Regions from separate parts of the Homo sapiens genome. Here regions 1, 2, 4 and 5 are each linked to region 3. The links are contacts of gene promoters, found by promoter capture Hi-C in blood cells and fetal thymus (Javierre and others, 2016). All regions are on one chromosome and are shown on one strand. Each heading gives the region's core, a stretch centred on a gene start or on the middle of the fragment in contact. The rest is flanking DNA. Distances are from core to core; before and after follow the strand shown.

Region 1 (5,822 bases), core at 745-3,244, 580 kb before region 3:
TTTTCGCTGTGGTTTGCAAGTTTGGAATACTATGAAATTCTTTTCAACATTATGTTTACAAAGATGTTCTATTTTCTTATAACTGTATTTAAAGTTTCATATTTAAGTCTTTCCATAATTAGGTCTTTAGGCCACATGTTAGGAATCTCATTTGATTATTCTCCATATTAATAACCAATTGCCAAGAAATAAAAACATATTATTGATAAATGCCCAGTTTCCCACCGCTCTGTAATGCTCACCACGCGTGCATGGAATTGTGTCTGGCCTCTCCCTCCTGTGCCAGTGACCTAGTTACCTGCGCCAACACTCTTCATCTGTACTCCAGCTTCACCTCGGTCTTGCTATCTGGTAGAAAAACTCCCCACCCCACGCCTTGTCCTTCCCCTTCACAGTTGTCTTGTCCAGGCATGGCCTTTGGCACAGACTAGAATGTGGAGGCACCCCTGTTCCCATTCAGCCTCTTCCAGCAAGTCTCCACCACTCTGGCTTCTTTACTGTTTAACCCATTAAGAGCATCCCTCACCTTTTCATTTGCACAGTAAGCAAAGAGTAGGTCATTTTGTACTTCTTCAAGTTGAAAGATTCGTTTCCCATTTGAAGCCCCATCTGAAAACCTACCCCATAAATAAGCAGAATTGCATTCACCAGTACAACGCCAGCGTAGCAGTGAAACATGCCCTGAGCTCACTAGTGAGAATTCAGGAGGGGAGTCTGAATTCTCTCATGCTTAACTGCAGCATCCCCCAACAAAAGCCAAGCAAAGCCACCATATAGGGGGACTTCAGGGAATCTCAGAGTCAGATGAATAGCAGGAAAGAATGGGGATTGGAGGGGAGGAGTTTTATTGTGACTCCATGTTTCCCCTCTGTCATCATGGGCTAGCCCAAGCCCCACCGGCACCCTCAATTCACTCTCTTCCCATTTTTTCTTTAACCTGATTGGGCAAGAAAGAACTTTCGGGTCCACCTCTTCCAGGCCTTCCCAGGATGTCCAAGGTCTCAGGATCTAATTTAATGTACAGATTTTCTAATCCAGTTCCCTGCCATTAATCTCTGTTCAATTCTCCTAAGAAACTCCTCATTTCTGTTTATATATTTCTAACTTCTACTTGACAAGTACTCAAATTATAAGCATCTTCCAAAATGTTTTAGGGGAAGGTATAATCTGGATATATGTTCCATTTCACAGAGAAGGAGCTGAGTGTCAGGGACATGAAGCAACTCGCTCCAAGATTTGTGACATATCCAGGGCTGGAATGTCCAGGCCAAGCTCTTTTCTCTTCTTACACATCCCTCCTCTCTCGTTGGCCTTCTGGCCCAGGGAACAAAAACTCCTGTGCCCAGTCTGGATGACAAGGACCTGCCATGCCCTTCTTTGCTAAGAGCTTTCCAGGAAACCACAGTGAAGTGGAACTTGGCTTCAAAGAACAAGGAACTTGTTGCCCCAGCTGTGCGGGGTGTGTATGTGCATGTCGTGTGTATGCACTTTAATAATTAAGTGTGTGCCTGAAACTCTGCAGCAATGGTGACCCCTCACGCCAATTCCCTTTTAATTCCTATGCCCTTAGCACTCCACCTAAGGCAAGGAGTTTTTTAAGCTTTTCACGCAAGGAGGAAAAATCTTGACACCAACTTAAAAGCTCTATTCACCCAGCAGGAACCATCATTTTGCTATTGGCGCGGAGACCTTGACTGATAAGCAGGGCCAGCTGCCCTGTCCAGAGTTCAGAAGCAAGAATTGTGGAGTGTGTTAGCGCAGGTGACAAGGGTCGCAGGGCAGCCTTGCTCAAAGATCTCAGCGGCCACAGGTAGACTCTCCCAAAGGGCAAGCAGGTTGAGCTGGTTGGAACATGTTCATTCCAGCAAGGGCGGGGTGGTCCCTTCGCGTTTGTGTGTGTGCAAATGGTTATCAGGTTCCCCAGCCCTGAGTTCCCCCTCCCATGTGCATCTCATGTCTAATCCAAAGGGCTTGGGGTGAGGTCCAATAATTTGCATTTCTAGCTTGTTCCCAGGAAAGCAGATGCTACTGGAACATGAGCCACCCTGTGAGGACCACAGCTCCAATTAATTCATGGTAAGCACCTCAAATCTGATGATAGCTCTCCGGCTCCGTGGGAACAGAGAAATAAATAGAACACGGTCCGTTCCTCCAGGAGCCTCAAGAATCAAACACCTCCCCTGTCTGCTTGTGGGGTTGCTTCTTATACTTTCGAGATAAGCCTGTGTTTCCAAATCCCAGCTAATCAAAAGAGCCATCCAGGAAGTGAGTCCATGAGCAATTATAAGGGTGACTGCACCTGTAAACTTCAAGGGGTCTGAATAAGGATAGGCATCATCCTTACAAACTAACACAGGAAGCTGATGGCCTGATGGCCAGGAAGCTTGAAAATACACAGAAGCCCAGGCTTCTTCCAGAAAATACAGAATTAGTACATCTGTGATGGAATCTGGGAATCTATATTTTCAACAAGCTCCCAAGATAATTTTCATGATAGTGAGAATTTAAGACAGACTTGATGACTGGGTGTGGTAATCCCAGCACTTTGGGAAGCCGACGTGGGCAGATTGATTTGAGTTCAGGAGTTCAAGACCAGCCTGGGCAATATGGCAAAACCCCATCTCTACAAAAGAAAATTAGCCGGGCACGGTGGCCCATGCCTGTTGTCCCAGCTACTCGGGAGGCTGAGGGAGGAGAATCTCTTGAGCCTGGGAAGCAGAGGTTGCAGTGAGCCAAGATAGTGCCATTGTACTCCAGCCTGGGTGACAGATCAAGACCCAGTCTCAAAAAAAAAAAAAAAAAAAAAAAAAAAGACAGACTTGAATTAAGTCACAGAGTTTTTAAAAGCCCAGAACTTCTACTACCAGGAATGTCTTAAAGTAACCCTTTAGTACTCTCACTTCTATTATCTATTACCTGGCACGAATTATTTCTAAAATAAGCTGGATCTCTCCCATAAAAAAAAATCCTGAATAAAGAGCCCTGGAATAACAGGGAGAAGACAAAAAAAAATGGGTGAGACCAAGGACAGGTACTCTTAGTAGGCCTGGGTGGAAGGCACTGGTAGATTGCAGATGGCCACAATGCTTCAGAGCCCCTCCCAAAAAGAAGTGAAGTCTACCCACCCCTTGAATCTGAGATGTCCTTGTGACCTGCTTTGAGCAATTGAGTATGACAGAAGGGACACTGGACAAGTTCCAATCCTAGGTCCCAACAGGTCTGACAGCTTCCCTTTTTGCAGGGCTTGAAACCCTGCTATCACCCTGGGAACAAGGCCAGGCTAGCCGCTGGAAGTTGAGTAAGACCTCATGGGGAAACTGCAGTCAAAAACCACCCTGATCCTTCCTAAGCCAGCAAGCCCCAGCCTCTAGCCACAAATGCTTGAACAAGATGGACCAGACACGCTGGAGCACAGTCCAAATTACCCGCAGAGTCAGGAGCTAAATGGATGGCCCTTGTTTTAAGCCACCAAGTTCTGGGGTGGTTGTTACATAGCATAAGTTGACTGATACAGGAAGGACACCAGGGAATGTCAGAGCAATCCTAAAAACCAATTCCATCACTGGACCATTTGCCTTGGGCCAGATCTAAGCATTGTGCCCCTGCTATGTGATAAAGCCACCCTCTGGGTCCCCGACGCCTTGCTTCCCCAAAAGTTCAAAGCTTTTCTCTGAGTAGTAAACTGGAAAACTCATCCTTCTAATAACCCAGCTTTGCTCATTGCCTCATTGCCCTAAACCCAGCCATAAGATTCATGAGAGAAGGGAAACAGCAGCCATTACATCACTTGCTTCAATTTCCATATAAGAAAACAGAGCAGGTCTGTCCTCAGCGTACACACATCTGAGTGTCCTGCAGCATCAAAGATTCTCCATGCAGTGGGGCATTCATGCTGAGCTAACTCTTAGCAAATGGGGTTGCTGCCTAAGCAGGTGGCAAAGTGATACGGTACAGTAAGCAGTGGGCCACGGATCTGGAAACCTGGATTCCAGTCCTGCCTGTCATCTTGGGCTCTCTGGATGGGCACTTACCCTCCCTGAATTCCAGGTCTTCAATGGTTGGATTTGATCACCAACACATTTCTAGGGTACCATAGAACAAGACATGAAGCTCAGGTAAGAGATCTGAGCCCCAGTTCTTGACAGAGCTGGCTTTGTGTATATGCGACTGTCATGCCAGACCCCTGTTGATGCCAGCAGGGATGGCACCGTGTCCAAGAGGCCAAGGAAGAGACCTGGAGCTGGCAAACGAGATATAGGGTATAAACAGTGCAGTCCAGGACCAGCGAGCTGGACAGGAAAACTGCTCTTGTTTGTAAAAAACATACAAGTTATGTGGCATTTTCACTTAGGAACCTCCACCTGGCAACTTCTATTTAACCCAGAACAAAGAGCCTCAATCCCCTGTCCAGCATGTGTTCCAAGGGATGGGCCCTAGGGGTTCAGATGGCCTTATAAATAAGGAGTGAGTTTCTGGGTTGGCCACTCCTGGATTCCTTAGCTGAGAGCTCTGAATACACATTCTTCCGAGACCATAGGGTCATTCTCAGGGTATGATTGAGTTATTGCTGTCAGGTGTATCTGCCATACAGCCACCCAGGCAAGTTGCACAGGGCTCCAGGCTCAGAAGATCCCCATACTTGGTTTAATACTCAATTATTGCTATCTTACAATCTTCATAATTTTATCTTTGAACTTGGTGTTTTTTATTGTGTTTTGGTTTTGGATTTTGGAGTTTTGTTTGTTTGTTTTTTGTTTTTTGTTTTGAGACAGAGTTTCGCTCTTGTTGCCCAGGCTGGAGTGCAATGGTACAGTCTTGGCTCACTGCAACTTCCACCTCCCGGGTTCAAGCGATTCTCCTGCCACAGGCACCTGCCACCATGCCTGGCTAATTTTTGTGTTTTTAGTTGAGACAGGGTTTCACCATGTTGGCCAGGCTGGTCTTGAACTCCTGACCTCAGGGGATCCACCCGCCTCGGCCTCCCAAAGTGCTGGCATTACAGGTGTGAGCCACTGCGCCTGGCCTGAACTTGGGTTTTATAAGTGAAGTCCAAAGAGACAGTAGAGCATGCACAAGAGCCCAGGAAACACATGAAATATGCGTATCTGCCTCTGTTCCTTGGTAGTACGTTTGCATACAATGTTCATGGTTCCCAATGAGCACAGAATTCCAGTGCATCCAAGGTGTGTGGGACTTCAGCAAAACTCAGGTCTATGACTGAATACGGGAGACACTGACAGCCCTGAGAAGTCATGCTTTCTGTTCAAACCACAACTTGCTTCAAGAGCAGAAGGAAAGCAATAGCGTTTTATGGCATCCAAACAACCAAAGAGCTTGCTGTGGGTTCAATTGTGTCCCTTGCTCCCCCAAAAATCATATGTTAAAGCCCTAACCTTGAGCACCTCTCAATGAAACCGTATTTGGAAATAGGGTTTTTGCAGATGGTAATTAGGATCAATTAAATCAGGATGAGGTCATACCGGGATAGGAGGCCCTACTGCAATATGGCTGATGGCCTTAGAAAAAGGGGCAGTGTGGGCACAGCACACAGACGGGGAGAATGCTATGTGAAGATTAGAGTTATGCTGCCACAAACCAACCAACTGCCAGGAGCTAGGAGGGAGACCTGGAAGATCATTCCCTATCCCTTTCAGAGGGAGCAAAATCTTGCAATCACCTTGATCTCCGATTTCCAGCTTCCAGAATTGTTAGACAGTAAATTTCGGTTGTATAAGCCACACAGTTGATACTTTGTTATGGCAGCCCCAGCAAACAGATACAGAACATACTATTTTTTCTTCCTCACATTACCTCCCTGTTAG
Region 2 (5,464 bases), core at 1,892-4,391, 510 kb before region 3:
GAGAGTCTACTTGATTTTTCTCATGAGAAACTATGCATAGTCTTCAGTATAACGATGTCATAGTATTTCTTCCACCTGCCCTTTAATGGAGCCAGACAATAAGCAGAGAAAAAACAAAAATGCTTGGTGGTTAGGTGATAAGTGCTAAGAAAAAGTATCATAAGGAAAGCCTCACTAAGGAAAGACACAAAAGGAATAGATAATTCATTCTTGGAATGATTTACTTAAAAACTAGCAAGAGCTTTCAAACTAAAGATATATAAAGACACAGGATGTAATTATGAAATTGTGCACATACACTCACACTCAAGACCTTGAGGCAAAGCTACGAGCGACTACGGAGCATCCTGCGTGTCGAGCACCACCCCGCAGATTAATTTTCCCCAAAGCTAACTAAGGACACTGAAGAGCAAAGGAATGTTTGATCTGAACAAACCCAACTTATTTGAATAAACTTTATAGTGTGCCAGAATAAACCAACAAGAGTACTATACACAAACTTCTGATAAAGAAATAGAACAGCTGTCAGTTAGTGTGAAAACAAAGAATTACGTAGAAAAATATATTTTAAGATTCCAAAATTAAAAACAAAATTCACAATGCAACACTAGGTGACAGTTCAAAAAGACACATTAAAGTAAGGGGAAGAGCACTAACTCACTGCAAACAAATCCCGAGCAACATCTGCCTACATAACTAACTGCAATGGCTTGGGACAATACTGTGTTTAATAAGTCAGTTGGGTAAGCTGTGTGGCGTCCCTGCTAATCTCTCAGGGAGATAAAATTTAAGCTCAGGTTCATGCAGACCTGCATAACACCACAAAATGTAAGTCCGCAAGCCCTTCTTCTCAGAAGATTTTAAAGCTAAAATTTCTATACAATTTTCACTTCCAAGGAATTATACAGAGAATCTCAACAAAATTCATTCAAGTTACTCTCTTTAATCATAGATTTTTCTTAATATTTCCATAAATGTATTTCCCCTAAAAGAGCTCAAAGGAAACACATTTAACATAAAAACTACTTACATATTTTTAGCATAAATTGAAGCTGAACAATGTTCAGATTGATTGCCAAATAATGACTCAAACCTGTGGAAAGTCTGACCTTCCAATAGTGGCAACTATTTAACTGTTTTCTCTGCTATTACTCATGAATGTTTCATTTGATCTAAATCCCAACCCTTAGTTTAAATCACATTGTTGTTTACAGGGGAATGAACACAGAAAAAATTGAGTAATAAACAGCTTTTGCAAACAATAAATAACTGTTTAAAATGTAATAATTATTTACATGATTTTTGTATCTTTGGAATAAAACAACAGTAAGTAAAAACATGATGTCACAAAAACAGCCTAAACATCTGAAAACTTCTTTTCTAGACCCAACTGTATTATTTTTCATCTCTGTAACCTTCAGTAAGTTCCTAAGGCTTATTGTCTCACGTATAATAGGGGTATTATCACTTGCCCTGATTAAAGGCTTCCTGAGACTTTTTCTAAGAAATTAATTTGTGAAAACTACTTAAATCACACAAAACATAAAGCAGTACTATTAGTCACCCAAAGTCTCTGTTCTAGGAAAAATAACACTATATAAAAAACATACCAGATTTTCCTGACTTCTAAATTTATGTTGATTATTCTCCAGACAAAATACAGTAATTCCTTGAACTACGTGGAATTGTGGGTTATGTCATATTATACATCATTTCTCAGTTAAACTTATTTCTACAAGCAAAGCTTTTAATAGCAGTATAAGAAGACACAGACTTTGGAATATGACACGCAAAACCTTGCCTTTACCAGTTAATAGCTGTGTAACCCAAGGCAAGTAAGTTATCTAGCCTCTCTACACAGCTCATTTGTAAATGAAGATAATACCTATGTGTTGTGAGGATTAAAATTTATGAGCAAACCACTGGCAATGTGTGTAGCATACACTTCTGGCACACAGTAAGCCCTCAGAAAATTGTGTTTCTTATTAATACGATCATGCCAGACAGTGTTCTTTTTAAAATACCAATTTCCTTCCTTTAAACCGCCTTTTATTGACCAAGGATCTAATGAGATTATTCATACCAATAATACCAATACATCACATTTTGGTAACTTCGGGGTCTACTGAGGTGTGCATGGTCTCTCTCCCAAAGCTTCAAGTTAGAATGTCCACAATTCTTGGGCCCTTTTTTTATATTGTCTCTTCTCCCTCACTGTGAGGCAGGCACCTGTGAAGTACTACCATCAGTTTATATCTCTGTAGAAGAATTCCAAACTACTGTTTTCTGATTCGCTCTTTTTTATATACAAAGTTTAGAAAGACAGAAATATACCAGAACAAACCGAGAGTTGGATGTCTTGGTGGAAAAAGGCAGGGAGTTCTTACAGGAGTGCAAAGGGCATAGTACCCACTTCTCGGATACCGTATGATTTCGACTAGGCCTTTTTTGTCAACTCCCTGATTCTTTGCTACATTCTGTGCTGATATGGTTTGTTAGTTGAATGAGGCATGACTGTAAAATACATCTAAGAGTCCTTAGAGGGAAGAGCTCCAAAAAACAGACATCTGGGGGTGTGAGAGAAGGAGTGGTTAACAGTTATAAAAAAGATGGCTGTGTTCAGTCAGACATATTCTCATAAAATGACAATCTTGAAGGAAACAGTAATGTATTCTCATGAGTTGACCTTATGTCATTCATCACTTAATTTGCATTTCTTATTTAGCACTCTATTAAGAAGGCAGCAACAGCGCATAAAACAAAGTGGAGGCAGAACACCTAAGTTCTTGCCCCTGCTTTATAACTGAGTCACCTCTAATTTTGAGCAAGTTTTATAATCCTCATTTTGTTCTTCAGTTTCATTATCAGTAAAGAAAGCATCAAAGTCAGAAGGAGGAGATGAGACCACAGAAGTAGAGGCTGGAATGATGGGCTTTCAAGACAGACGAAGGGGCATGAGCTGAGAAATGTGGGTGGCCTTTACCAGTGGAGAAGGCAAGGAAACACGTCCTCCCCTACAGCCTGCAGAGGGAACACAGTCCTGCAGGCTCGCCTCAACTCACTCTGACCTCCAGAACTTTACGATGATAAATTTCTGTTTATTTAAACCACTAAGTTTGTGGCTTTTTTTTTTCTTTTTACAGCAGGAACAGGAAACTAATGCATCTGTCTATAATTAAATTCTGCCAGCACCTCACCTTCTCCAAAGGACTCCGTGCAATGCCTAAATGCCTATATTCTATCTTAAGTAACTGAACAGGAGAAGCAGGTATTGGAAAGGAGCTTCAGAACTTTTAGCAGATTATGTTCTAAAACTATTTAACAGGATTCAAATGGATGTTTAATAGAGATCCTTTACCTTTGCAGAGAAGTTCAAAATTAGATATACTTTATATCTTACTACATTATAGTCAGAAACTTAAACATATTACAGATGTTAAACAAACACCTTAAATTTACTCAAGACAGTGAAGATGGCAAGGTAAGATTTCATGAATGAGTGAACATGATGGTAACTATCTTTCAGTTACTACTGTGTTATTTTGCTATATGAACTTTGATCAATGCTAACAACATAAACAAATGAGTCTTTTATCAACTGAGGAACTACAGTGGAACTAAATGTAGGAAACTGAAGAAAAACAGGACCTGGCTCCTCAGAGTGGCAATGTTAACATCTTTACAAGTGATTTTTTTTTTAATGTAAATACCTGTTCCAATTCCTGTTCTGCATACTGACGTCTACTCAATTCACATTCAGCTCCCTCCCTTAGCTCTCTCAGCCGACAAGCCTCCTCCTTTGCATAATTGATTTCATCCATCATTTTGCGCTCTAAATTTTGCTTTTCTACAGCAACATTTCTGTTTTCTTCCTGTGCCTTTTCAAGCCTTATAGAACAATAAAAATAAAAATTCCTCACAAAAATTTCCAGTTTTATTTTTTTTTACAAAATAATGAATACTGGGTCAAGCGATTAAATACATATTTCAATCAGAAATCATAGCATTTTTCATTAGCCTTAAGTTTGGTTAATACAAATATCAGGCAACTTACTATACAGCTATTTTGGTTATCCTGGGTTCAAATGACAGGGAAAGCAGGGAAATACTCTTCCGCAAAAAGCTTTTCAAAAATTCCTAATTATTTAAATCAAGTTAAAAATAAAATTTAACTACACATCTAATTCCACTATATTTGACTTACCTCCACTGTTCTTCTACTCATTTATTCTCAAGTATACACATTTATAATAAATCTGTAATTATAAAAGTATACTTTTCTAAAAATGTGAAATCAAATATGCATCTATTCCTGATGTGTATAATAACCTAAATGTAAGTATTTAAGCACATGCCCATATCACTTTTTTTACAAATTGTATTTGCCTACATAAATGAGTTATGATTTTTCTGAACTTACCTCTCCTGTAAGTCCATTAGACTTTGCTCTGCAGTTTGTAAGCTCTCTAAATCTTTCATCATTTTTGCAACATGTTCTTTTGATGTCTTATTCTGCGTATAAGCAAACCAGCAGCCTCCAACACCAATTACTATAGAAACTGTGAGGATAAAATCTTTCATCCAGTTATGAGGTGGGCCTATTAAAAGAATTACAGATGATTAAATTAATCTTTGAGTATGACAGGACCTCAATACAAAAAGACATTTTTTAAGTAGTATCTAAAACAAAACCAAAAATTGGAGATCTCTTTCCCATGCACAAGCTCTAGCCTTTTAAAATTCTTTCTTCAAATAATGACTGTGCTTCTTGTAACTCTTTGATATACTAGACTTATAGAAGGGCAGAGGTAAACCCATATAGACACACCACGCCCCTGCTGGTGGGAGAAGGAGTGGTCAAAGTCATGGGGACCCTTGAAAAAGCAACAGCACCTCCAATCATATGCTGCCAGAATGGTCCTCTGTGGGGTGAAGGGAGTCATCAAAAGTATCACCACCATCATCCCAACTCCCTTCCTTCAGTCAAGCTAGGCAGCTGTCACGTTTCTCTCACACTTATAAACCTGATCACTCACCAAAATGTATTTTCCCCAAGGAGGCAGCTATATAACTAATTAGGTTAGGTTAATCAGTGGTTCTCAAGGCTGGTGATAATTCCTCACCCACCCCTAGCAGACATTTGACAATTTTGGGTTGTCTCAACTTGGGGGAGTGGTTACTGGCACCTAGTGGGCAGACATCAGAAGTATTGCTGAACACCCTACAGTGCGCAAGACAACCTCCTCCCTGTGTCCCCTCTGCGGATGACAAAGACTTAACCAGAAACTATCCAGCCCAAAGAGTGACTAGTGCTAAGGCTGATAAAGCCTGGGTTAAATAGTAATAACAATTATTCAGTTTTAGGTGTCTATATGCCAGAGATATGGGGGTTACTGGTATGATGTTAACCCCCAGCCTTATGTCTAAAACAAAGAGTGAGGAGCCAGGGCCTACTGCCTTCAGT
Region 3 (5,629 bases), core at 853-3,352:
AAGGAAGGAAGGAAGGAAGGAAGGAAGGAAGGAAGGAAAAGAAAGAAAGAAAGAGAGAAAGAAAGAAAAAGAAAGGAGGGAGGGAGGGAAGAAAGGAAAGAAAGAGAGAGAGAAAGAAAGGAGGAAGGGAGGGAAGAAAGGAAAGGAAGGAAGGAAGGAAGGGAAAGAAAGAAAGAAAGAAAGAGAGAAAGAAAGAAAGAGAAAAAGAAAGGAGGGAGGGAGGGAAGAAAGGAAAGAAAGAGAGAGAGAAAGAAAGGAGGAAGGGAGGGAAGAAAGGAAAGGAAAGGAAGGAAGGAAGGAAGGAAGGAAGGAAGGAAGGAAGGAAGGAAGGAAGGAAGGAAGGAAACTAATTTGCCCAGTATTTCCTAGCAGGTAACCAGTGAAGCCAGGATTTGATCCCAAGTCTGTCTGATGCCAAAGCCTGTCCTCCCAATAACATCCACAGCTTCTCCAGTGTCCCTTCCCCTTCTTGTTTCTGTGACTAAATGCCCCAAACCATGTGGTCTTCATGGTTTCAAAGAAAAGAGGCACCACTGTCTTTCCAGCCCCACACTGACAGTAAAAATGCGTTAGTTCCTCTGTGTCTGGCAGAGACTCAGCAAGATGTAGCATGCAGCTCTGCCAGTGGAAGCATTGTCAGTACACAAGGAGCCCCACGGGTATCTAGCAAATGGACCAAGTCTCAGCACAGCCAAGCAGGGCGTCAGAAACGCAGGTTTCACAGCCATTGTCGTCTGCTTTCCAAAGGGTCTGAACTGAGGACATAATCTGTGCAATGGAGGTTGAAGGGCTTTCCAGCACCACAGAGCTTCATGGAACACCCAGGACCCTGAGATGGCCCCCCTCTCTGATCTCACGTCCTGCTGTTTGCCTCTCACTCACTCCTACTTCTATCTATTTGTACCTCAATGGGGCCACACTCATTCCCACCTCAGGGCCTTTGCACTTGCTGTTACCTCTGCTAAAAGTGCTCCTCCTTTTGCCTGGGAGAAGCTGTCTTGGGATCTTCACAAGACTTTGTCCTTCTTGTGGTTCAGTCTCAGATCACAGTCCCCTCCTTAAGAGACCTCTCCTGACTACCCCTTCTAAATCAGCAGCCCCAGGCCAGGTGCAGTGGCTCACGCCTGTAATGCCAACACTGGGAGGCCAAGGCAGGAGGATTGCTTGAGCTCAGGAGCTTGAGACCAGCCTGGGCAACATAGCGAGACCTCCTCTCTTCTAAAACTAAAAAAATCAGCTGGGCTTAGTGGTGTGTGCCTGTAGTCCCAGCTACTCAGGAGGCTAAGGTAGGAGGATTGCTTGAGCCAGGGAGCAAGGCTGCAGTGAGCCATGATCGCGCCACTCCACTGCAGCCTGGGGAACAGAGCAAGACCCTGTCCCCGCCCCCCAAAAAATCAGCCCCTAATCTGTTTGTATACATCACATCTCCCTGCTTTACTCCCTTTGTAGTACTTACTACCTGAAATAATTCTGCTCATTATTTGCTGACATGCTAGAAAAGTGCCTGGCAAATGATTGACTCTCAATGAAGATGTGCTGAATGCAAGGCTTCATGAATGAAGAGGAAATCTCACTAACGTCTTTTGTAATAAGGACCCAGGTACCTATGTTCAAAAGTGCCTCAATCCTAGTTAACAAGGGCAGAGACCACGAGAAACAACACTGTGTTTAGTAGCAACTTAACAACCAGCCAGCAGTTCTGTCCACACACACACCACCGGGCATGGTTCCAAAGCTAAAAAGGCACTAATTGCTTTTCTATAAGGAGGTAGAACACAGTCCCTCCGTGTTCTTTAGGCCTGATGGTCTGCATTATCGGATCTGTTACCGTGTTAATTGTTCCTGTCTCACACAGCCGGTTTGGGCTTTCTTCTGCATATGTCTGGGATGGTGACGGGTTCCTATATAGAGGAGTACTGGGGAAGCCTCTGTGTGTGTGTGTGTGTCCGTGCATATGTACACATGTGTGTAAAAAGCAGCCACACGCTGAGAATGGTTAACGGGTAGCCAGGCTGTCTGTACTCAGGGCCCTAAGACTGGCCCAGGAAAGGGCCGGGGGAGGTGGGGCGGGGTGAAGGTGGAGCGGGCTTGGCTTGTGCTCACTGCCTTTTCCACAACAGGAGTACAAATGCTGGAGTGAGTGAGGTGAACTCAAGTCGCCTTTAGGAATGGCTGAAAAAGCCCACACCTGGAAATCACTCCCTCCCTGCTCCTCCACGGCAGGTTGCATCTGCGAGACGCTTCGGTCATTAGAGGAATGAGCCGGGAGTGAGCAATTCACCAGCTCTCCAGCACTTGGTGGAAAGCAGCAGGCAAGGATGGATGTGGTTGACAGCCTTCTTGTGAATGGAAGCAACATCACTCCTCCCTGTGAACTCGGGCTCGAAAATGAGACGCTTTTCTGCTTGGATCAGCCCCGTCCTTCCAAAGGTAAGTGTCGGAAGCTGTTATTTTAATTCAGGAAACTATTGAGTTGTGGGAGAAATCAGCAAAGGCAAGGCTGATAAAAAATATATATAACCAAGTCATTGTGAGACAAGGCTAGATAAAGTCATATGTTCAGAAGTTTGGAGAAGAGATTAAAAAGCAGAATAGAGTCAAATATTCTTATTGTCCCCCATGGGGGAGTTGGGCATTCATGAATAGGACTTGGGGGAACAAAAGCAGGGGAGGAAAAGCTGAGTGAAGCAAGAGGGACTACAAGTGTCAAAGCCTGAACTTACAAGCACAGCAGAAAAGGTGTTGTCACCATGCAGCTGTTTTCTTTTCTTGGGGGGAAACCCAGCATGAAGTGATTAAAGTGAAATAATGCTTAGCAGCCAGGAAAGAAAGTGATCACTGTTCACTTGAGGAGCTTTGTTCTTAAGAAAAAGTGGTTCCCTGAGTGATCCTTTAACAAACCAACCTTCTAAAAAGAAAATAATTCAGTCTCTGCTTTCCTCAATTTGTTTCCGCAAAATGTTGCCAGGACAGGAATCGTGGGTCCAGTGATGTACACCCCGGTGGGGGGAAAATCGGCAGGAATTCACCCTTGGCTTCGGTTTTAGCATTCTGCTGTCATCACCTCCATCCCTCCGTCTTGCTCCTGTTTCTCTCTGCAGAGTGGCAGCCAGCGGTGCAGATTCTCTTGTACTCCTTGATATTCCTGCTCAGCGTGCTGGGAAACACGCTGGTCATCACCGTGCTGATTCGGAACAAGCGGATGCGGACGGTCACCAACATCTTCCTCCTCTCCCTGGCTGTCAGCGACCTCATGCTCTGTCTCTTCTGCATGCCGTTCAACCTCATCCCCAATCTGCTCAAGGATTTCATCTTCGGGAGCGCCGTTTGCAAGACCACCACCTACTTCATGGGTAAGTTGCTGCTGGTGACTCTTTCTGGAGCTTGCCCCAGACCCCACTCAGCCCCAGACCTTCCCAAACCTCTGACAATCACAGCAAAGGAGCCCTGCTGAGGGCTGAATCACAGAACATCAGGCTGTGCATGGCTGTGTGCACGGACATTGGTGCTGGCTTGACAGTCATCCTTATACGTTCCCCACAAGTCGGTCCCCATCATCCATGTTGGAGGTCAGTTTCTAAGAGTGAAATAAATTGATAGGAAAACACAGGGGCAGTTGATTTTGCTTGCTTCTATTTGAAGGGAAGAGGGACTTGCTTGCTTCTGTTTGAAGTCAGAAGTGACTTTAAGCTGCTCTATCCCTTTCTGGAAGCTGTTGACTGTGTCCTGATCTATACACAACTTGAGTCCTGGCTTCTAGGGAGGGTGAGGATGATGGAGGAGGGTTCTTTGCAGTTGTTTCTTTTGTTTTCTTAGGGAACAGGGGCTATTTGAAAACCAGTTCTATCGCAGTTTCAGATTCTCTTCTCAGGATTCACTTCCCAGCCTGTTCTCCCCAAAGCTGGGGCCATCTCTGGCAGAAAGAGAGAGAGAGAGAGGTCTCTGCCCCTAGATGAGGAGTTGAATTTGCTCCTGGGGGCTATGGGGTCGCTAAGCTGACCCTGATTGGCTGAGATATATAGCTCTTTGCCTATGCCAAACAAAAATGATGATAATGAAAATCATAAGAGCTAAATTTTTTTAGCGCTTTTATGCACCCCATGTGGTACTAAGTGCTTTGCCTTCCATGATCTTACCTTATCTCCCAACCACTCTATGAAGTAAATGCAATGATTCTTCCTTGTCTCCCTAAGGAGGAAACAGAGGCACAGAGAGGTCCATAATGTGCCTAGAACCACACAGATGGTAAGCAACAGAGCTGAGATTTGAGTCCAGATTTGTAGCCACACAATGGTGAGCATGATACCTCAGTTTGCCAACTGCTGTGGTTCTCTTAAAGTTGAACAAAAAAACACATTTCTTGGTCCCCTCTGGGTGCCAGATTGCCTAGTCCCTTGCCCTTTCTGAGAATTAGTTGGGAGAAGGGCAGAGATGGGAAATAAGAAGGGAGTTATTTTTTGTTCTGACCCAAGCCTTGCAGAATATGCAGAACTGAGTTAGGCTAGGGCAGTCTTCAATGACCAGAAAGCCTTATAAGTCCTCATTTTTCCCAGTTGAGGAAGTGGGATTCCACACTGACAAAATGATGGTGAATTACTGACCCTCGTGCCACCAAAAACCAAGAATGTGTCAATCCATGTCCAAGTCCTCTGAAAAAAAAAAAAAAGACAAAACTTACAAAGGAAAAAGATCGTTGTTAAATAATGAAGCAATAATAATAACTAGCACTGTAGACATCCGAGGCCCATCCATATATATCTTATGGTAATACTATTTGGGAACCTTAACCAGAGAATGTGAACCGAGATTTTAAATGAGTGTTTTCATGGTGGCAAAACATTGTGAGTGCCACAGAGTTGTTCAGTTTGAAATGAGGTTAATTTTATGTTATGTAAATTTCAACTGCATAAAAAATATTTTATTGGGCAAAAGAAAAGCAACATCATTCTGAAAGTATTTGCAATACCATAATAATTTTGTTGGATTTTTAATTCCAATAATTTAGGCTCTTCTCTTAATTTTGCAGTCTCCTCAATACTAATAATTAACATTCATTAGCTCCTAATTTGTAGCAAAAAGAAAAAGAATGCTTGCCTGCCAGTGAGTTTATAGTTATTGATGATCCATTATGCAGAACTGAGTCTTAGAGATTTTTGGGCCGTACTCTTCACTCTAAATGTCATCAACTCTTTAGAGTAAAATCCAGTAAAACACAGCAAATCCTATCCCCAGAACATGAGTTTTTAGTTAATGGTTTGGGGGTCATAGACTTTTTTAAGACTCTAAGGAAAGCTAGAGCTAGGCTCCCTAGAAAAATGACATTTTTGGATATAGTTTCAGAGAATTAGTTTATATCCATAAGAATAAGGAGAATCTAAGGACCCCAGTTTCAGGACCTCTGCTCCCAAATTTATATTAATTCTGAGGTTTAAGAAATCTTGGTAAGAGATATTCAGAAGAATTGACAGAATTTATAGCAGAAGGACTCTACAGGGAATTTTAAGGGAATAATAGGACATTTTAATAAGTATGCATATACAAATACAAAAATAATGGAAGTTAAGCTTTTTGGGCAATGCCGAAGCACATGATTTTGTTCATTTTTTATTTTAATTTTTTTTCCATAGGC
Region 4 (5,421 bases), core at 1,798-4,297, 540 kb before region 3:
TTGACATAGAAGCCTAACACCTGCCCCCTCCAAATTTGGAGTATGGACAGACATGGATGTCAGGTGGGGAAACGGTTTTCTCTAAGTGGCTGTGTTGGTCTGAATTCAGATTTCCTTTATTGAGCAGTGGACTTTGGCTGGCTGCTAGGATTCATGGAGTGGCTCCTCAACTCTACATTTCAGTCATAAAACAACTTGCAAGTTGCTTCATCTCAGAGAATTTTGAACTGGAAAGAAGCTTATGAGGCCATCCTTCTCCCTTACCTCATGTCATCTTTTCATCTTTTGGAAGAATTTCCATTTAGTGGTCTCTGACCTAGAGTCGCCTGTACTTTCTTCTAAGATCTTCCTGGAAACTGACGTGCAAAATCAGCAGCAGTGGCAGCAACTCACCTTTCTCCTGTCCACATTGGTACACATTTGAACATTTTACTGAGTAGCTCCATAGCTATCTTTTATCTAGATTAAATAAACTTTTTATTTTCCTAAAAAAAAAAAACAGTGTCCAAAACCTGGAATTAAGCAAAAGAGATTTTTACATGTCCTTTTAGTGTTGTGTTGAACATTGCATAGTAGGCCTGCCCAGAGTTCTGATTCTCTAGGAGTGTATGCCTTTATTTGACTTGCTATTTACTATTTAGGATATTTTTCAACTTTGTAAGGGTGGATATTGATTGGAAAGAAAGCTGATAGAAATATAAGTTATTCTTGTTCAATAGGAAGGAAAATGAAACTCATCCCTGGAGAGATGCAAACAAAAATATTATAAGGTTATGGTTTATTTTGTATGTAATTAAACTATCTTATTCCAATGACTTTATATGCCCAGTCCTTTAGGTTTTCTTTAATTCAGCTTTACCACGCTGCTGGCCCTTTCATTAATGAGTTTAATGATTCTTTGACATCACTTCCCTTAAAAAAAAAACAACTTAGATATATAATCATTGGCTATCTTCCTAGATGCTTGGATGAGATATGAAAGCAAGAGAGTAAAGAATTTTTTTCTTTTAAGATAAAGATTTGAGCTTATTTCATAATGTGAAAAAAAGCCATGGAAAGAGAGATGTTAGAGAAACAGTAAAGATGAGACAATTAATGAATCAAATCCCAGAAAGAGCAGGAGGGCAAAAAATTCAAAACATGAATGTCTGGATGACTCTTGGTTACAAAAATAACTTTTCCTCTGATAGTGAAGAAAGGAAGAAAGGCTGGCTGTATGTGTATACACACACACACACACACAATTTTGTAAGTTAAGGGCAAGAATTTGAAGACGTTCATACCAAATGAGCAGTCTTACTGAGAGTCAGGATTGGGCGGTGCAGCACCCGATGTGAAGAGATCATATGGATTTGAATATTCACTGATGGAAACAGGAAAGGGATCTTATTGGAAAAACCGGGGAGTACGGGTAAAAAGAGAGTTGGCTGTACTCATCTGTGACGGGAAATCAGGGATGTGTGGGAAAAGTTGGGATGATTGCAGTGATGTGCTGTGGGATTGAGGTAGGTCAACATAGGAAGGAAAGCCAGTGTATGGAAAATGGACACAGAAAACGTGGGTAGGATCCATGAGGCCGGGCGCAGTGGCTCACGCCTGTAATCACGAGGCAGATCACGAGGTCAGGAGATCGAGACCATCCTGGCTAACACGGTGAAACCCCGTCTCTATTAAAAATTACAAAAAATTAGCCAGGCATGGTGGCAGGCGCCTGTAGTCCCAGCTACTTGGGAGGCTGAGGCAGGAGAATGGTGTGAACCTGGGAGGCGGAGCTTGCAGTGAGCCGAGATCCGGCCACTGCACTCCGGCCTGGGCAACAGAGAGAGAATCTGTCTCAAAAAAAAAAAAAAAAAAAAAAAGGTAGGATCCATGACAAGGCTGAAAAGAAGTGGAAGCAAAGGAGTGGCCCCCTGGAAGAGTAGGCAGTTTTGGCCAAAAAGGCACAGGAAGAGGTTGGGTATAATGAGTCCACAGGTAGACAGTTCCAGAAGATGACAAGATTTCCATGTGAGCATCATTGGTGTCTGTCACTCAAGTAATACAAAGGTCTTATCTCAACCTCTGAAAAGACTTTGGGATGGGATGCCGGAACAGGCTGGGAAATACGACTTCATTGAAGAACATCAGTGTGACATGGAGCTCTCACACACTGGTAAGGAGTTAAGAGGTGCTTTTTTCATAGAATCAGCATTTGACCTACCCCCAAGACACTCCATGTGACACAGGGCTGAAGATCACAGGGAGGGGGAGAAGGGTTCAGTGGACTTACTTGCAAAGGACACACTTGAGAGGGACCCAGCACTGTGGTAAGCCTTTCTCAGGCATCATCTCATGTAATACCCACAGCAATAGTGAAGCAGCATTATTAGCATCCCTACTTCATCCATAAGAAAACAGGCTCTGAGAGGTAAGTTATTTGTCCCATGTCATAGGTAAGAAACGCCAGGGGTCTCATGCTGAGAACTATCAGACTCCGAAGTCTATTTTCATAATTACTACAGCACATAATCCCCCCAAAATAAGGAAACAGGATTCAGGAGAGGGAGAGAAGTGGGAAAAGGCACTTAACGATTTATCAAGATGAGCATTCAGACACTTTGTTTTTTCCAAAGGGGGAGGAAAGCCCTAGGTACCACTACAGAGGTTCCCTTCTACACGTAGTAAAACTGTACCCATGTCCACAGGAAGACATAATGTTTTTAAAAATTGAGAATCCATTAAACAAACATACACCAGGAATACAAAGGAAACCCAAAGCCTTTGTACCTGTTGCTCCTGACTGTTCCATCTCTGCCTGGGATGTTCTTTTCTAGCTATTTCCATGACTGTCACTCACTTCCTTCATCTCATTACTCAGATGCCACCATCTACTTAACACAGGTCTTCTCTGACCACCCAAGTTAAAACTGAGACCCACCATCTCCACCATCACTACCTGGGCACTCCCTATTACCTTCGTCTAACATATTGCATATTTTGTTTGATTACTGTCTGCACCACTAGCATGTAAGCCCCAAGGGTGAGGGGCTTTTTTCTGTTTTGTTTACTGCTATACTCCTGGCATCTAGAAAGATTTCTGGCCCATGATAGAAACGCAAATATTTTAAAATTTATCTCAAGGCCAAGCAAGTGTCCATTGACACCCCTGCATTCACACACATGCACACGCACGTGCATACATGCACACGCACACACACTTGTCCTGAAGAGCAGAGTTCCCAGGTAAAGCTAAACATGAGAACTCGGCTTGTGCCTGTGGCATACATTTCTAACTCTACTCAAAACCCACTCCCTCCTTCTTTCTTATCAGTAGAACCCCAATTGTGTTTGAGGGCAGAAGCATACAATCAGTCAAGCAATGAATCAGTGCTAACCTGCTATATTTATCAGCTTCTGTAGCTGACGATGACTACATGGCATCTCAGTTCTGGCCAACAAGCTGAAAAGTGAGGCTGTCGGGTGAGGCTTCGCAAAAAGCTCTTTACAAGGGAGTAGCATCACTGGCACACACCATCCTGCCTTTGCCCTTCTTCTTCCTGCCATATGAATGTGATGTCAGCGGTTACCTTGGGCCATCAGGCAATTCAGGATGGGTAAGTCTGCTTAGTTTTCTGTGACTTGCAGCTGAATGCGATACTGTCAAAAACCCTGAGGTCAAAGTTGTGCTTTCCACTCTTCTCTCTTTAGCAAAAAAGCCACTTCTTCAGCAAAGCCTGTCCCTGCCTTCAAGTTAAGTTAGGCCCCCTTTAAGTAGTCTCACAGCCCTGTGAACCCTTTTTTCATAGCACTAATAACAAGCATGGTAATTTAATTACTTGTGAATTTGTTCAACAAAGTAGGAAAGGGCTGTGCTTCTTGTATTGTTTGCCCTGCACACAGCACATTGTATTCTCTCACTATTCAATAATTATTAAAATAAGATTGAATAATGTAAGAAATCACATTAATTATCAGATATGTAGTATAGCCATTAAATGCTGAGTGCAGGAGAGGTGGTAGAGACCAAGAGTGGATAGGCTAAATCTCTTTACTAAGCAAAAACCTGAAAGAATGTGTTCCTCCTATTGAGTCTATTCAGATATCACTCATCCTTCAGTGTTCAGCTCTAAAAATATATTTCTCCAAGAAAACATACTGGACATACTGGTCACTTTATGCCACTTTGATCTCCTCTTTTCTTGGAATCCTCCTGTAAGACAATGAAAATAGAGTATATACAAGTGAAAATAACACTCACTTGTATTGGATAATACTCTTGAACTGTTTTCTGGTCATTCCATTTGCAATGGCCTTTACCAACCTGGAGGTGGAAGGCAGCAATACTGTCTGTTGTTCATTTATTCACTCATCAGGCATGCAATGTATTCAGTGCCTAAAGTGCCAGTTCTTGGGAGTTCGAAGCTACACAAAGCAAAGTCTCTGCTCTTATGTAATTCAGTCTGTTGGGCAAACAAGTAAACAGGTCATTGCAATACGATGTGTCAAGTGCCGCAATAAATACAGAAAATTCTGCATATCTAATGGCTTCAGCACAGGAATTCAAGACTAGCCTGGACAGCATGGAGAAACATCTCTACAAAAAAGAAATACAAAAGAAGCCGGGGGACTGGGTGCGGTGGCTCACGCCTGTAATCCCAGCACTTTGGGAGGCCGAGGTGGGCGGATCGCCTGAGTTCAGGAGTTCGAGACCACCTTGGGCAACAGGGTGAACCCCGTCTCTACTAAAATACAAAAAAAAAAAAATAAATAAAAATAGCTGGGCATGGTGGTGCGTGCCTGTCGTCCCAGCTACTTGGGAGGCTGAGGCACGAGAATCGCTTGAGCCTTGGAGGCGGAGGTTGCAGTGAGCCAAGATCGCGCCACTGCACTCCAGCTTGGGGGAAAGAGAATCTGTCTCAGAAAAAAAAAAAAAAAAAAAAAAAAACCAATAATAATAATAAAAGAAGCCTGGTGTGATGGTGCACACCTGAAGTCCCAGCTACTCGGAGACCAAGGTGTGAGGATCTCCTGAGCACCCAGGGAAGTTGAGGGGACAGTGTTTCATGATTGCACCATTGCACTCCAGCCTAGGCAAGAGTAAGACCCTGTCTCAAAAAAAAAAAAAAAAAAAAAAAAAAAAGAGGGGGGGCGTGGAAAGAAAAATTCTGCACATCACAGAAATGGTATCTCACCCAGGTTGGGGGCATGCATGGAAGGCTTCCTAGAGATATCAGAGTTAAAGGTTTAGCGTTAGTTGCCTAAGATGGAAGGGGACGTTCCAGGCAAAAGCAGCAGCTTGCCTTACTTCAGAAATTGCATGAAGTTCTGTGTGACTGATTAGGTTATGTCCACAAAAGCCATGAGGCCAGAGGAGTAAGCAGGGTACAGAACATCAAGGGCCTTTGCTAGTCTTGGTTAAGTTTATATTTTATCCCACAGGCA
Region 5 (5,767 bases), core at 310-2,809, 520 kb after region 3:
CGCACACACACACACACACACACAAGAAAAGGCCCTAAAATTCAAGGAGTGATTATCTCGGGGTGCTGGGATTTCCTGTGGCTTTTATTTTCTTCCTTTGTGCTTTTCTGTATTTTCCAAGGTTTTGTAATGATTCAAAAAAGACTTTTTTCACAGAATGCTTGGCGTATTAACCTGCCAAATACACTGGCCTCACGGACACTTCCTTTTCCCGGGGAAGGTCCTGCCCACAGCTCTACTGAGGGTCCAGTCCTTAGGCGGCCAAGTCTTAATTTATGCACAACCATAGCAGCTTCGAAATTTCAGTATTGGAGAGACTTAAGAAGACAATCTGATTGCAAAGGAGAAATTGAAGTTATATTTAAAATAAAGTTAAGACAATGTCAATTGTCCATATGAAGGAATAGGAGACAGGCTACAGCTTCCCCACTCTTCTCCTTGGGGTCGGCCATTAAACCTTCCGCTATGCTCCTGCCCCATCTCCCTTCTGATTGGACAGGGGGTGATCAGCTGACCCGAGTGCAGCCAATCCACCCAGGAGCCTGTGCCTTATGCAAAAAAAGATGGCCGGGTCATTAAATTCATCCCTGGCGGATTTGAACTGAGAAATTAGGCAAGTGCCAGACAGTTAGCAGTGGGAATAGTAAATGAAGGGCTGTAGGGAGAGACAGCAGGAGCAGAGAGCCATGAGGAGATACAGATGGTGTGCATCATGGAACAGTAGAAATAATTACTAAAATGACTAAATAAAAAGCATGAAAAAGGCAGAGATATGAGATTTTTTTCCTCCAGACGGAATCTTGCTCTGTTGCCCAGAGCTAAGAAATTCTACAACAGCTTCCCAGGCATGGGTTAAGAAGACCTAGAAAACTCCTATGCCTGTTTAACATCAACTCCACCATTATGGCTTCATTGGACAACCATTATTGAGTTTACACTATGCTAGACACTATACCCAAGAGATATCTCAGTGGAGTGCAGGGGCGGATCTCAGCTCACTGCAAGCTCTGCCTCCCCGGTTCAAGCAATTCTCTTGCCTCAGCCTCTCGAGTAGCTGGGATTACAGGCACATGCCACCATGCCCGGCTAATTTTTGTATTTTTAGTAGAAACGGGGTTTCACCGTATTGGCCAGGCTGATACTCCTGACCTCAGGTGATCCACCCGCCTGGGCCTCCCAAAGTGCTGGGATTACAGGCATGAGCCACCACGCCCGGCTGAGATTTTTTAAAAGGATATAGAGATTAGAGGAAAGGATAAGTCAAATGGTAACAAGAAGAGCACAGAACAAAAGTGAAAGAGACCAGGGTGGCCCCGTTTCTTCATTTGAGTTCCCTCAGGAGCAGACTCTGAGACAACAATTTCCGTGCAAGTGGTTTATTTGGGAAGTGGTCTCAGGAAACTGCAGAAGAGGACTTGGGGAAGTGATACCAGGAAGGGAAGGCAGCCAGTAAGTGGTGCATTACTGAGCCAGCCACAGAAGGCAGTGACTGGAGCTTAACCCAGGGGGAAACTGTGTCATATGCATACCTCAGAACTCTCCCCAGCCAGGAGGTGAGGGAGTTAGGATATTTATATAGCAACTCCTGAGAGTCTGGTTGAGGACTGCTCCCATAGCACTTGATTCCCTGGAATTCAAACCCTGTGCTTGTGGAAAGAGCTGCCTTCCACGGCTCCAGGAAAAAATTCCCTAGACACAGAGATGCAGATATACTGGCAGCTGCAATGATCAGAAGCACACGGAAAGCTCTGAGGAATACAGATGAGGCTCTGGAAATGTCTGCCTCATCAAGAGAGAGGACCCATACACAGATAGATGGATCCTACAGTCCATTTGAGATGGTGAGAGAGTGCTAGCCCCTGAGCACTTTCTTTTTTACAGCTTCTTGGTTCTTCAGCTTCATACAGTATGTCCCCAAGACTTGAGCCAAGTGGAGGGACCCCAACTAAGATGAAGAACCTGGGAAGAGGCACCCCTCTTCCCTAGGACTCCACACCCTCCCCAGCCTCCCACAGGGAAAGAACTGTTCTATATTATCTAGGGTCACAAGCCATAAAAGATTGTCACCTTGGATTGATTCTTTTTTTTTTAAATAGAGTTGAGGTCTTGCTCTGTTGCCCAGGCTGGTCTTGAACTCCTGGACTCAAGCAGTCTTCCTGCCTCGGCCTCCCAAAGTGCTGGGATTATAGGCATTGACGGATTCTTAATACAGATTTTAGATTCTCATATAGACCCCTAACATTCCCTCCCCTAATACCCAATGACCATGCTAAGAAATTCTACAACAGCTTCCCAGGCATGGGTTAAGAAGACCCAGAAAACTCCTATGTCTGTTTATCATCAACTCCACCATTATGGCTTCATTGGACAAACATCATTGAGTTTACACTATGCTAGACACTATACCTAAGAGACATCTCAGTCTGGAAGGAAGCGGACACATACATTAAGAATTTCCTCAGAATGCGGCAAATGTTAAAATGGAGCTGTGTTGACATGGTGGGGAGCATTAAGGCAGAACACATGAATTCAGCTTATGGGAATTCAAGAAGGCTTCACGGAAGGAGTGGCTTTTGGATCAGGTCTTGAGGGATGAGTAAATGTTTAGCAAGAGGGAAGGCTGGGGGATATAGGAAGTGAGACCCAGTCAGGCAGGAGGTATAGCCAAGCAAAAGCTCTGGGCTAGGAAAGAGTCTGGTGGCTTGGAGCACGGACAGAGACAGCAAAGGCTAAAAGAGAGGTGAGACTAGGGAGGCCCCCGCACTGGTGGTGAAGGGCTTTACATATTGAGCTGAGTGTTAACTGTATTCAGTGATTACTGAGGACCCACAGAAGGTTGTCCATGGGAACTATAAAGAGCAAAATCCCTGGAAAGGTAATCATCAGTTCTTAGAGATACTTTCCCACCAGAGCACTGAGCAAACATCATATCAAAAGTTTCTTTTCTTATATTTGCTAAGCACCTGCTATGTACATAGCACTGACTAGGCACTATGGGAATGCAAAGAGTTCTCATGCACCAATACCCAGCTAATGCCACTTAAGAATAACTGGAGAAAGGCCGGGCGTGGTGGCTAATGCCTGTAATCCCAGCACTTTGAGAGGGTGAGGTGGGCGGATCATGAGGTTAGGAGTTCGAGACCAGCCTGACCAATATGGTGAAACCCCGTCTCTACTAAAAATACAAAAATTAGCCAAGCGTGGTGGCGCGTGCCTGTAATCCCAGCTACTCAGGAGGCTGAGGCAGGAGAATCACTTGAACCTGGGAGGCAGAGGTTGCAGTGAGCTGAGATTGCACCACTGCACTCCAGCCTGGGTGACAGAGGGAGACTCTGTCTCAAAAAAAAAAAAAAAAAGAATAACTGGAGAGACAAACCCAATAGGCCTAAGATTAAAGAGTTACTGTGGTGAGGGGCAAATATATATAATTTATCTTAAGAGCTATAGGAGGAGTTTTTAGGGAGAGAACTACTCTTTGTTCAGCAGAACATTGTATAAACCATTTGTTGAATAGTGAGTTGAATAGCGTGTCCCTCAAATATACATCTTCTTGGAACGTCAGAATGTGACCTTATTTGGAAATAAAGTCTTTGCAGATGTAATCAAGTGAAGATGAGATCATACTGGATTAGGATGGGCTCTAAATCTAACAAGACTCGCATCCTAATAAGGATTAAGAGGAAGATTTGGAGACACACAGACACACCTACAGGAATAAGGCCTTGTGACCACAGAAGCAGCAATTGGAGTGATGCAATTGTAAGCCAAGGAATGACAAGGATTGCCAGCAGTCACCAGAAGGTAGGAAGAGGCAAGGAAGGATGTTTCCTTAGATTCTTCCAAGGGAGCATGGCCCTGCTGACATCTTGATTCCAGCCTTTTAGCTTCCAGGACTGAGAGAATACATTTTTGTCATTTTAAGCCACCCAGTTTGTGGTAATTTTGTTGTAGGACTCTTTCCTTAGTTCAGCTAAAGATGGGGGTCCTTGTCACACGGTCACAAAAAATTTGGCTCACAGACAATTTGAAGGGTGAGGAGGGCAGAGTTTATTGGGTGAAAAGCACCAAAAAAAAAAAAGAAAAAAAAGAAAAAAAAGAAAGGGAAACAGGCACCCTCCACAAAGCCAGAGCAAGAATCCTGCTAGTATATGCTTTCCACCTCGCAACTTGAATCCCAGGTACCACCCAGGAAGAGAAGGGGGCAGGCTCCTCCCCGCGAACTTCTGTGGCTCCACCCCAGTGCACACTCCTTCCAGTGCGCATGCTGGTTGGAGTTTTTCTGGGGACTCTTTCCCATCTGGCTGTCTCAATTTGTCACAGCAAACTAATACACCATCTGAGTGAAAAGAAAGGACCCTGGACAAAATCTGAAAGAAGCTGAACAAAGGGAGGTCTGAACTTTTCTGTATGAGAAAATGAAGAGAAGCAGAGGAAGTAGAGGGGTGAGAGAATTGTAAGGAGTTAAGGGGAAAAAGAGGTCAACACCACAGCAGGAAGCCAGCATCTTAGGAGAAAACACAGCTAAGCTGGAATCCGCACCAACACAATTTGCTGAGGGGCTTTAAGAAAAGCAATGTTTAACTTGTTTGCTGAATTTTACGATGGCTGAGTAAATGACATTTGCACTTCCTTCTTTTCTCAAAAATCACCCTCAAACAACAAGATGAAAACCATCAAACAAATACATCTTTGATGCAGCATGGAGACCCTCTGTGACCCTCAACTACAATATGAGAAAATAGATGGAGGAAATTGAAGGAGGAATGACCAACCTCTTGGCAGAACCAAGGAGGGTAAACTTGATTGCCTGAGGGGATACTGAGGAGAATCGAATCCATTTGTCCACCCTGGAATGGGGGGCATTGAGTGTGCAAAAAGGAAGATGTGACTCTGAATAAAGTAGAGACATCTTTGAAGAAATGAATAAGGGGCAGTTAGACCTTCTAGGTCCCCATTCCTGCTTTACCAGTTAGGCAGCCATCCTCAACCACACCTCCAGTGTAGACGTGAGATATAAATTCTAGAAAAAATGAATCAGAGAAGACCTAGACTCAAGGACACCAGGCACAGAGGAAGGTGGGGCTGAGATGCTGAACTAAAAACAGGGGGAAAATGAAAATCTGTTGAATGGTGTTATCCCCAGGCCTCTTCTATTTTCTGTGTTTACAAGAGGCCTATAGATACTGACGTTAGGTATTCCCTATTGAAAGAATCAGTTAGTCCCTTAACCACTCATGAATAAGGCCCTTTAGTTGACAACTATCCTATTCCACTTTAACCACAGACATTCTAATAGTCTTTGAGCTTACAATGAGTTTTTGAGATCCTTGATATTAAGTAAAAACAGGAATCAGGGGTCATTAGAACATTTTGATTGGTCAAATGGAGCTCTAGGAAATTAAAAATATGAAGGCCAGAATTTAAAATTAATTAAAAGAGAAAGTCAAATATATTTATCAGAAAGTTAAAAAAAAATAGAAATGTTAACCCAGAAGGATCACCTTCCAGTGAATTCCTGAGAAAGAGAAAATAGTGACTATAATACAGTGGAAATTACTAAAGAAATAATATAATTTGCCCATCTATAATAATGTAAATATTATATATTATATAAATTTACTTGCTTACATAAATTGATTAATATATTTTATTCTTATGATTTGTTTCTTTAATGAATTTTTCCTTGAGGGAAATATCTTGTTGATTCTCATTCATATGCCCCCCAAACACAAAAAACAGCACTTCTTGTAAAGAAGGCATAATATTT

What was found. The method cuts DNA at HindIII sites, captures the fragments that hold promoters and counts their contacts. A CHiCAGO score of 5 or more calls a contact.
Region 1: a contact is called between a fragment that was not itself captured here and the fragment with the promoter of CCKAR in region 3, in 1 of 17 cell types (total CD8 T cells). The highest score is 5.4, in total CD8 T cells.
Region 2: a fragment that was not itself captured here is called in contact with the fragment with the promoter of CCKAR in region 3 in 6 of 17 cell types (naive CD4 T cells, total B cells, total CD8 T cells and 3 more); the score reaches 6.5 in naive CD4 T cells.
Region 4: a fragment that was not itself captured here is called in contact with the fragment with the promoter of CCKAR in region 3 in 7 of 17 cell types (total B cells, naive CD4 T cells, naive B cells and 4 more); the score reaches 7.7 in total B cells.
Region 5: a fragment that was not itself captured here is called in contact with the fragment with the promoter of CCKAR in region 3 in 1 of 17 cell types (neutrophils); the score reaches 6.6 in neutrophils.

What each region holds. Positions count from the first base shown.
Region 1 is chr4:27,064,261-27,070,082 of GRCh38, reverse strand. No RefSeq gene overlaps it. Among named protein-coding and RNA genes, the nearest start is that of LINC02261, 150 kb to the left of the region's middle. The HindIII fragment of the contact is 783 bases long and covers 1,603-2,385 here.
Region 2 is chr4:27,001,351-27,006,814 of GRCh38, reverse strand. It overlaps STIM2 (stromal interaction molecule 2), which reads right to left. Exons shown (of 12, transcript NM_020860.4): 6 at 4,421-4,598; 7 at 3,711-3,888. Among named protein-coding and RNA genes, the nearest start is that of STIM2, 140 kb to the right of the region's middle. The HindIII fragment of the contact is 1,969 bases long and covers 2,157-4,125 here.
Region 3 is chr4:26,486,957-26,492,585 of GRCh38, reverse strand. CCKAR (cholecystokinin A receptor) reads left to right here and starts at 2,102. Exons shown (of 5, transcript NM_000730.3): 1 at 2,102-2,430; 2 at 3,102-3,353. The coding sequence starts at 2,319. The HindIII fragment of the contact is 9,380 bases long and covers 1-5,566 here.
Region 4 is chr4:27,028,491-27,033,911 of GRCh38, reverse strand. No RefSeq gene overlaps it. Among named protein-coding and RNA genes, the nearest start is that of STIM2, 170 kb to the right of the region's middle. The HindIII fragment of the contact is 5,613 bases long and covers 241-5,421 here.
Region 5 is chr4:25,964,302-25,970,068 of GRCh38, reverse strand. No RefSeq gene overlaps it. Among named protein-coding and RNA genes, the nearest start is that of SMIM20, 53 kb to the right of the region's middle. The HindIII fragment of the contact is 8,839 bases long and covers 1-5,767 here.